Linked DNA regions of Homo sapiens: region 1 is linked to region 2. Evidence: promoter capture Hi-C in human tissues and cell types (Jung and others, 2019). All regions are on one chromosome and are shown on one strand. The core of a region is centred on a gene start or on the middle of the fragment in contact, and the rest is flanking DNA. Distances in the headings are between cores, read along the strand shown.

Region 1 (3,994 bases), core at 883-3,382, 640 kb after region 2:
GTGGGGACTTAAAGATGTGGGGGCTGCTGGCCCAGGGATATAGCAATTTCTGGATCATCTTCCTAGTTCTAGGGTTAAAAGATGTTTTCCTTCTGTAGTGAGAGCATGTTGGCAAAGGAAGCACAGATGCCAGTGCTGAAGGAGGAGACCTATGAATCTGCCTATTTAAAGAACAGAATTACCCCCAAACTTAGTGGTGTAAAACAATGACCATTTTATTACCATCTCTCACAGTTTTGTGGGTGAGGGATTTAGACAAATAACTATAGTGAAGAGTTTGTCTCTGTTCTAGGGTGTCTGGGACACAGCTGGGGCCCAGATGGCATCCCTAGACCCCTCTCCTCTCTCCACGTGGTCCATCAAGTGCGGCTGCCAGGAGAAGTGCATGTCTCATGTGGTGTCTCAGGACTCCAAGCCCAAGTGTCCAGGAGGCCCAGGGCTGAGGCTTCCCAGGACCTAACTTTAGAAGAGCATCACCACCAGCACATTCTAAAGCCAGCCTAGATCCACTGGGTGGGGAATTGGTTCCACTTTTCAGCGGGAGGAATATTAAATAATTTTTAGCTACCTTTAATCCGCCACGGAAGCTTAATAGAATGTTGTTATATATTGCTGTTAATTTTCTAAGTCTCATTTGACAATTGGGAAAACTTCAGAAGAAGTTAGTGACTTTGGTTTTAAAAAATAAAAAACTCTTACTGCTGTGTTATTATATTTGGAATATCTTGGATTTTTAAATTTATAGTCTATATCGAGGGACTACAAGAACCATGTAGAATATTGTTAGACGAACTAAAACTCCATCTATGACCTTTGTTCTAATGGTATGTTTTCAGAGAAGAGTTTTTTAGGATGTCCAGCTACTTGGCTGTTTCACAAGGTCCCCACAGTTAAGAAATCTCAAGTATGTAATTGTGATGGGTCTACGTGTGATCTGTGGCAAAACCATCTAGACCACCTGAACCACATGCCGTGTAGGTTTGTGCTAACCAGTAGCTCTTGAGGCAAGCGATAGGACAGAAGAAGCTCTGCCTCAGGCGAGTTAAGAAAGGAGAATGCACTCCTACTAAAGTTCTTTGTATGCTTGTGCGTATTTTTGCAGGTTTAGAATCTTTAAACCCTGCTTTCTTGATACAAACAGAGAAAAATCCACTTTTCTCGTGGTCCTGACACTTTTCTCCAACTAGTCTTTGTAAAATACTGATTCTGGCATTTCATCTGTTCTGCATTTTCATGGGAATCTGAACTTAACAGATAAAGTGGGTGCCATTCCTCTTTATATGATTCCATTAAAGAAGGAGTTCTCAGATTTTATGCTACCCATCCCCCTAAGGAAAGTAAAGAGGGAGTGCAGGGCAGACAGCATCGCCGAGCAGCCACCCACCATTGGGGCTGCCGATTCTCATCTCCAGCTCATGCAGCGTTACATGAGTGAGTTTAGTAATAGCTTCTAAACATAGTCTACGTGATTTTATAGCATTGATACATGCTGAGACTTGGAGGAGAAAATAAACATTTAATTAGTAGATATATCATGGGTTGATGAACTTAGGACTTTGGATAGAAACTCAAACTTCATTTTTCTCCCTAGGTTATTAAACAGGAGGTTACTTGGTTAAATTGGGTTCATAAAGTTAACTTCAGACTTCAAAAATGTGATTTTGATTGTGAAGCAAACTACTTTCATACAGTTGCTTCAATTTAATGTTTGTGGAGGCAGTGTGATCATTTCCATTTTTAGTTTTTATTGTGATATAAAATATATAGCATAAAATTCTCATTTTCTCCTTTTTAGTGTACGGTTCAGTAGCATTAAGTACGTTCCCGTTGTCATGAGTCATCACCTCTGTCTCCAAACATTCTATCATCCCAAACAGAAATGCTATACCCATTTAAAAAATAACACCCTATTCCCTCCAGTACCTGGTAACTACTATTCTACTTTTTTTGTTTGCTTTAGAGACAGGGTCTTGCCCTGTTGCCCAGGCTGAAGTGCAGTGGCGCAGTCATGGGTCACTGCAGCCTTGAACTCCTGGGCCCAAGCAGTCCTCCCATCTAACGAGGACTACAGGCACATACCACCACTTCTGGCTAACAAAAAAAAAAAATTCTTTTGTAGCGATAGGATCGTGCAGTGTCGCCCAGTCTGTCTTGAAATACTTGCCTTATGTGATCCTCCCACCTTGGCCTCCCAAAGTGCTGGGATTGCAGGCGTGAGCTACCACACCTAGCCACTATTCTACTTTCTTTATCAACTTGACTATTCTAGGTATCTCATATAAGTGGAATCATGCTGTATTTGTTCTTTTGTGTCTGGCTTATTTCACCTAGCATACTCTCTTTGGGATTCATCTAAATCCTATTATGTATCAGAATTGCATTCCTTTTTAAGGCTGAATCATAGGTAATTGGATGTGTACACCATATTTTGTTTATCTGTTCATCCATTGATGGGTTTTGAGTTTACACCTTGTGGCTATTGTGAATAACTGCTATGAACACTGATGTACAGATTATGTTTGCATTTCTGCTTTCAGTTCTTTTGGGTGTATCTTAGAAGTGGAATTGCTGGGTCATAAAATAATTCTGTGTTTAATATTTTGAGGAACTGCCTGACTGTCTTCAACAGTAGCTATACTATTTTTGTTTCCACCATCAATGTGTAAGGGTTCCATTTTCTTCATGTCCTTGCCAACACTGTCTTTTTTAATAATAGTCATCCTAATGGGTATAAAGTGGTATCTTCTTATGCATCTCACTAATGAAAACATTTTTTTCATATTTTGCATTAGTTTACATTTGAAAGTATTGCTTTAAATTTGTGAACTATATATGAGCAATGTAGAGAAATATTTCGCTTTAAGCAATGGTTGACTGGCCAGGTACAATGACTCACACCTGTAATTCCAGCACTTTGGGATGCCGAGTTGAGAGGATCACTTGAAGCCGGGAATTTGAGGCTGCAGTGAGCTATGATCATGCCGGTGTACTTCAGTCTGGGCAACAGAGAGAGACCCTGTCTCAAAAAAAAAAAAAAAAAGAAAGAATTGGTTAACCTATTCACCCAAGCTTCTTCCAGTTAACACAACTATTTGAGAGGATTATATAGCACTTTATTTTCTTTGTTTTTTAAAGTATTTACAGCAATATTAAAATTTTTGAGAAGCAGAATCTCTCGTGGGTAAATGTGGTTTTACATTTTTTAATAAAATATATGGTCTGGGTTAGGATATGTATGGTTTTGTTATTAAAATAATTCATATCTGCATTTTTAAAAAACCAGTCGCATTGAAAATTGGTAAAGGCTATCAGGCCAAGTGTTTCAGAAGTTGGATGTTGACTGAAGAGGTCTGTACTCTCCTTATTAAATGGTTTTAGGTAGACAGTCTTTGTTTCCTTGGGTTTCTAAATAAAGGAAGACAGACTAGAAGGCAGAAGTTTAGCTCCCAAAAGTATATAATGTGCTCTGTTCTCATAAACAGAGCAATTCATACTTACTGTCGGGTCGGGATGTGTGATTAGACAGCAGAACAAAATATTTTTAAATTGAGATTTGTGGGGAGCTTAGGGTCTTCTATTTGCCTAATTTTTTACAGAAAAAAATATTAATGTATGTTTACTGCAGATTTGTAAAATCATAATTGATTCTTAAAACCAAGTTGATTTTGATATGAGTAGTGTTTTGAGATTCTGCACATAAAGGGAGGGGATAAGGTGCAAGCTGTAATAAAAAACTGTCATAAGGCTATTTATTTACTTACTTAATATGATGTTGTAACAGTTTGTATGTGACAGTGCTTGATTTCTGGCGAGCTGTTTGTAAGTTTGGCATCACCTTTATTACTCCAAGCATCGGATCTAGGAGTCAAAGTTACCCCGGTTCACTAGTGATTGGCTGAGCAAACTCAGTTAGGTTTAGAGCACCCAGTTGCTGTTAGATGACTGAACCTTAATGGTAAACTCCCTGCCTGTACATATTCTTGTTTAGAAATCC
Region 2 (4,555 bases), core at 1,676-4,175:
GGGTAGGACCATATATTAGTAAATTACAGGTTGGAATAGTAAATATACAGGTTGTAAATTACAGGTTGTTGATTCAATCAATACTCTTGTGACATCCAATACCCACCAAGCACTGAGCTAGGTCCCATAGGACACACTTTCTAACCTCACCTAGACCAGATCCCTGTGGAAGTCACTAGTGCTACTCACCCATATCCACTTCTCCCTTTTTCAGCACAAGAAATATTGAATTGTGATTAAATAGGGTCATATGCCCAGTTCTGGCCAAAGTGATGGAACTCACCTCTGGGTAGGATCACATAATTGCTAGAGCAAGACCCTGCAGCATTTCCTTCCCGATGCTGCAATGATCTTGCAAGCTCACATCAAGACCAAGACTCCATCAGTTTGAGTCCTTGAGTGACTACGATGAGCAGGGTCCACCTGCCAACCACACTGGATGCAGCATGGGAAGGAAAGAAACTGTATTTAGCTATGGAGACTTGGAGGTATTTGTTACTGCAGCATAACCTCACCTATCTTGCTGGTACGTCACTGTTTAAAAAAGAGAAAAATCTGCAAAAGCATCCCATCAATCTGTTTTCTAAATCAGATAATATGGAAAAGCAACATTTGTTTCAAAATTCAACTTCATCAGGAACTGAACACTACCTTGAAAAGCAGAGGGTGCTGACAGCATAGGTGGGTTCAAACAACTCTGAGGGAATTAGAAATGAAAACAGAATGACCCTCAACAATGTAAGGACCGAACTGTATGGAATTCAGCTAAAAAGACTACAATGAAAATGCCACCTTCTGACAACAGCAACAGCCATTTATGAAGCAGTGAGCTCCTCAATGAAAGAGGCATTAAAGTTGAGGCTGGATGACCATATTTTCTCTCCCCAGAAGTCCAATCCTACCTCTCTTGAGCTTCCATTGAAGTTAATTAGAATCAGGTCTTCCTATAGGGAGTTCAATTTTGTGTCTCCCCCTACACCCAACCCCAACCCCTTGAGTCCATTATCTATCACAGAGTCCATTATCTATCAGGTGCCAATAAACATCTGCTAAATGAATAAATGAGCATTGTAGAAAGGAAGCAGGCATTGGAGGCAGAGATCAGCCTAATAGCCTCTAGGGATCCTCCAGCCTAAAGCTAAACACATCTGAGGGTGGGGAGCCTCCTTCTTATATAAAAAAAATTAAGCATCAATGGACACTTTATTATGATTTATTACTGTACACAATTTAAAACCACAATGAAACCTAACACTGCACTGTGGCTATCTTTGTTCTTGGACGTGCATTTACATGGGCAGGCTACTGTTTTGCCATGTGGAATTTTGTGTGCGAAGTGTTTATTCTTTCTATTAAAAAAAAAACCACACCCTTGTTTCTATTGCATTATTACATTCCCTATTATCCCATCACATGTTTTTTCTTCTTGCAGCAACACAGTACACACCCTGTACTATTGCTGACATAAAAATTACTTGTCAAAAATACCTCTATCTTAGCACCACATTACTCATCTGATCTTTGCAAAGCACTGGCCTTTGTTTCACCTGGGACTAGATAACTCAACTGCTTTTACTAGTGACTCCTGAATGCTTGTAGTAGAAGGATAAATGCTAGTGTCACCTATGTTTTTAAAGTCACCTTCCAAAACAAAACTACATTGGAGGTGAATAATAAATCTTTCAAGTTTTTAACTTCATTTTTCAAGGGATTTGGAGGAAAATGGTGAAGAGAGAATCTGTCACAGATACCAAGGTGTTACTGCAATGTAAAAGAGAGTAGACCAGGAGCCTTTGGCCCTCAGCAATCTGTCTTCCTACAAGAAAAATCGAAAGCCCATTTCCATAACCATTCTTATTCCCTGCTACTAGTGTAGGATGCGCAGGACTCTGCCCTCTAGCAGAAAATGCTAATGCCGGAGTGTCCTGCTAAGTCTGAAGGTTACGTTTTTTCATTGCACTCTTATCAAGATAACCCCAGATCTGGCTAGGCTGACATCAAAACAGAACTATCCTTGGAAAGAAAAGAACAGGCCAGAGTTTTTGGAAAAGCCCCAATAACCTAAAGATAAAATCCAGAATGAGAGTCTACTGGTTCATGGCTATCTAAATGGAAACTTCACTCAAGCTGTTTTCTCTGTTCTCTTTCTGCTGCCCCCAACAGCCCTCCCTTCCACCTCCCAGTACTCACTGCTAGCATGTCTCTCTTAATATTGCAAACACTATTACAATGAAGGAACAGAAGAAAGACAGTATTTCATACGAAGGTCACTGCATTTGACCGGTGCTCAATTAGAGCACTGGGCAAAAGTACAATCAGCCTTCCAATGATACCTTTTCAACAAAGGATACCCCACCTCTAGACTGAAGCCTAAATCTATTACTACAGATAAGAAAGCAGGCATCTATGGAAACCTAACATTCAGATACAACTGCCTGTGTATGAATTATATCAAAATTCCCATGAAAGGAAACCAGGTGGGATTTCTACAATCCCAAATTCACCCTGCACCTACCTCCAATGGCTTCTTCAAAGGGAAGGTATAAAGTCATTTGCAATTTATTTCTTTGAACCAGGAGTTTTAGCAGCCCCCACACCTTCTCACAGATAGGAACGATGTTGATGCAGAAACCACCCAAACAGCCCTGTGCCAGCACTGTCGGCCCAAATGACCCAGAGACACCCAGGCGCTACCCAGATCGTGGGGGGTTACCTGTATCTGTCACCGAGTCTCTTTCACCCCTTCTGCGTGATGACATCAAGTGGAAATGGTACACGTTTAGGAGGCAAGAGGCTGACAGGCAGGAAACACAATTGAGACTGAGCTTTCTTCAGCCTGCAGTGAAATACATGCAGGAAGGGTTAGATACGCGCCGCGGAGAAGGAAATCCAAGCGCCCTCCTGGGCAGACGGGGCTGGAGCGGGTGCACTAGGGAGGTGGAGCAAGGCAGATGAGGTGTGGAGGGCTGGCGGCCGAGAAGGGGGCGTCACGGCTCCTAATTGTCTCTACAGGATAAATAACCACCTCCCCCCTCCTCCGCAGTCTCCCCCGCCCACGAGTTCCCCTCTGGTGGCAGAGCGCCTACTAGCAACAGTAAGCCCTAGGAAAGAAAGAAATCGGAGCAGGTGGGGAATAACATCTTGGGGCAAAGACACACTGGCAAAATCTACCAGGTAACCCGGTCATATGGGAATGCGGGGCGCCTAGTCAGCCGCGCAGACAGGCACACAGCGCGGCAATCCCGAGCATCTTTCTTTCGTTTGCCCCTGTCCGCCACCTCATCAAGTCACCGCCACCTCATCAAGTCACCGTCACCTCATCAAGTCACCGTCACTCTGCTTTGGCGATTTCTCTACTCTCTCCAGACCCAGGCAGCGCTCCCCAAGCCATGCCCCGACCCCAGGCGGGATTGGGGACCGCCGCTTCCCGAGCAGCGCCCCACGAGTCCAGCTGGCTTTGTCCTGCCGCTGTCCTTCCAGGAGCAAGCGCCCCAGGCGCGTGTGTCTGCACAAAAGACCCCCAACATCTGGCCCTTCACAGCGCTCTCTAATCCCGGGAGGGGCCCTGGGGCAACTTCTAGGGCTGGAGAAGGCGCGAGACAAGGGGACCGGGAGAAGATGAGCCGGGGTGTGTGCGGGCCGGGGGCGCAACTGGGGCGGGCGCGCGCGCACGTGCACACCCAGGGGCGCGCGCGGCGCGGGCACGAGGAAAGCTCCCTCGGACCGGAGCTCCAGGGGGCATCCGAGGACTCGGCCGAGCAGCCGACAGCGCCGCTCCCCGCCGCGGCCGCCCGCCCAACTCCGCCAGCTCTCAGGAGACACGCAACTCCCGGGACCACCTCCCCCGTGCCCCGCCAGACCCCGCGCTCCCCTCCCCGGGACCCTGCGGCCCCGCCACCCCCTCCGCGGTCCAGAAGATCTCCCCAGTTACAGCAGGCGGCAGCTGCCCTTTCCCGCTTCCACGGCTTCGGCGCGGCCGCCGTAGGGGCGCAGACATCCCTGCGCACCCCTCTGTCCGCCCCCGATCCGGAGCCGGCAGAGCAGAGAAACAAACCGAAACTCACTGACCTTTCTCCGCGGCGGGCTCGGGTGCTCGCTACAGAGGCGGCGGCGGCGGCGACAGCATCGCCGGGTGGTCCCGGCGCGCCCGCTCCTTTCAGCCAGACTCGCGCCCCGGGCCGGCGGCCGCCGCTCCTCCGGCCGAGAGCCACGGGGCGGACGCTGACAGCGCGGCGGCGGCGCCTGCAGCCCCAGCACCCGGCCCGGCCCTTCGGGCGGCACCCCCACCTGCCCGGCCGCCCTCCGCGTTCGCGGTCGGACACCGCCGCCAGGCGCTCGGCACCGAGCGAGAGCTTTTTGTGTCACTGAGACTCCGGCACCAAAGGGGGTGGGGGGAGAGGCTGGGCTCCGCTCCCCGCGGCACCGCCCTCCCCGGCGGCTCCACCCCCTCCTCCCCGCCCACAGCCCGGCGGGCCCGGGACTTCTCTCCGTCAGTCCCGAATCGCCCACCTCCCCCGGGGTGAGGGGCTGCCTACCCTCTCTCGCGCGCTCCCTC

Evidence for each region. Contacts are between HindIII fragments. The study calls those that stand out against the background at their distance.
Region 1: a fragment that was not itself captured here is called in contact with the fragment with the promoter of RNF152 in region 2 in 1 of the 25 tissues and cell types used here (liver).

What each region holds. Positions count from the first base shown.
Region 1 is chr18:62,535,238-62,539,231 of GRCh38, forward strand. The region is part of intron 1 of ZCCHC2 (zinc finger CCHC-type containing 2); the gene reads left to right. Among named protein-coding and RNA genes, the nearest start is that of ZCCHC2, 14 kb to the left of the region's middle. The HindIII fragment of the contact is 3,955 bases long and covers 156-3,994 here.
Region 2 is chr18:61,890,082-61,894,636 of GRCh38, forward strand. RNF152 (ring finger protein 152) reads right to left here and starts at 2,926. Exons shown (of 2, transcript NM_173557.3): 1 at 2,714-2,926. It overlaps LOC105372159 (a long non-coding RNA gene), which reads left to right and starts at 4,472. Exons shown (of 3, transcript XR_935562.3): 1 at 4,472-4,555. RefSeq lists silencers at 4,112-4,261, 4,332-4,481. The HindIII fragment of the contact is 14,100 bases long and covers 1-4,555 here.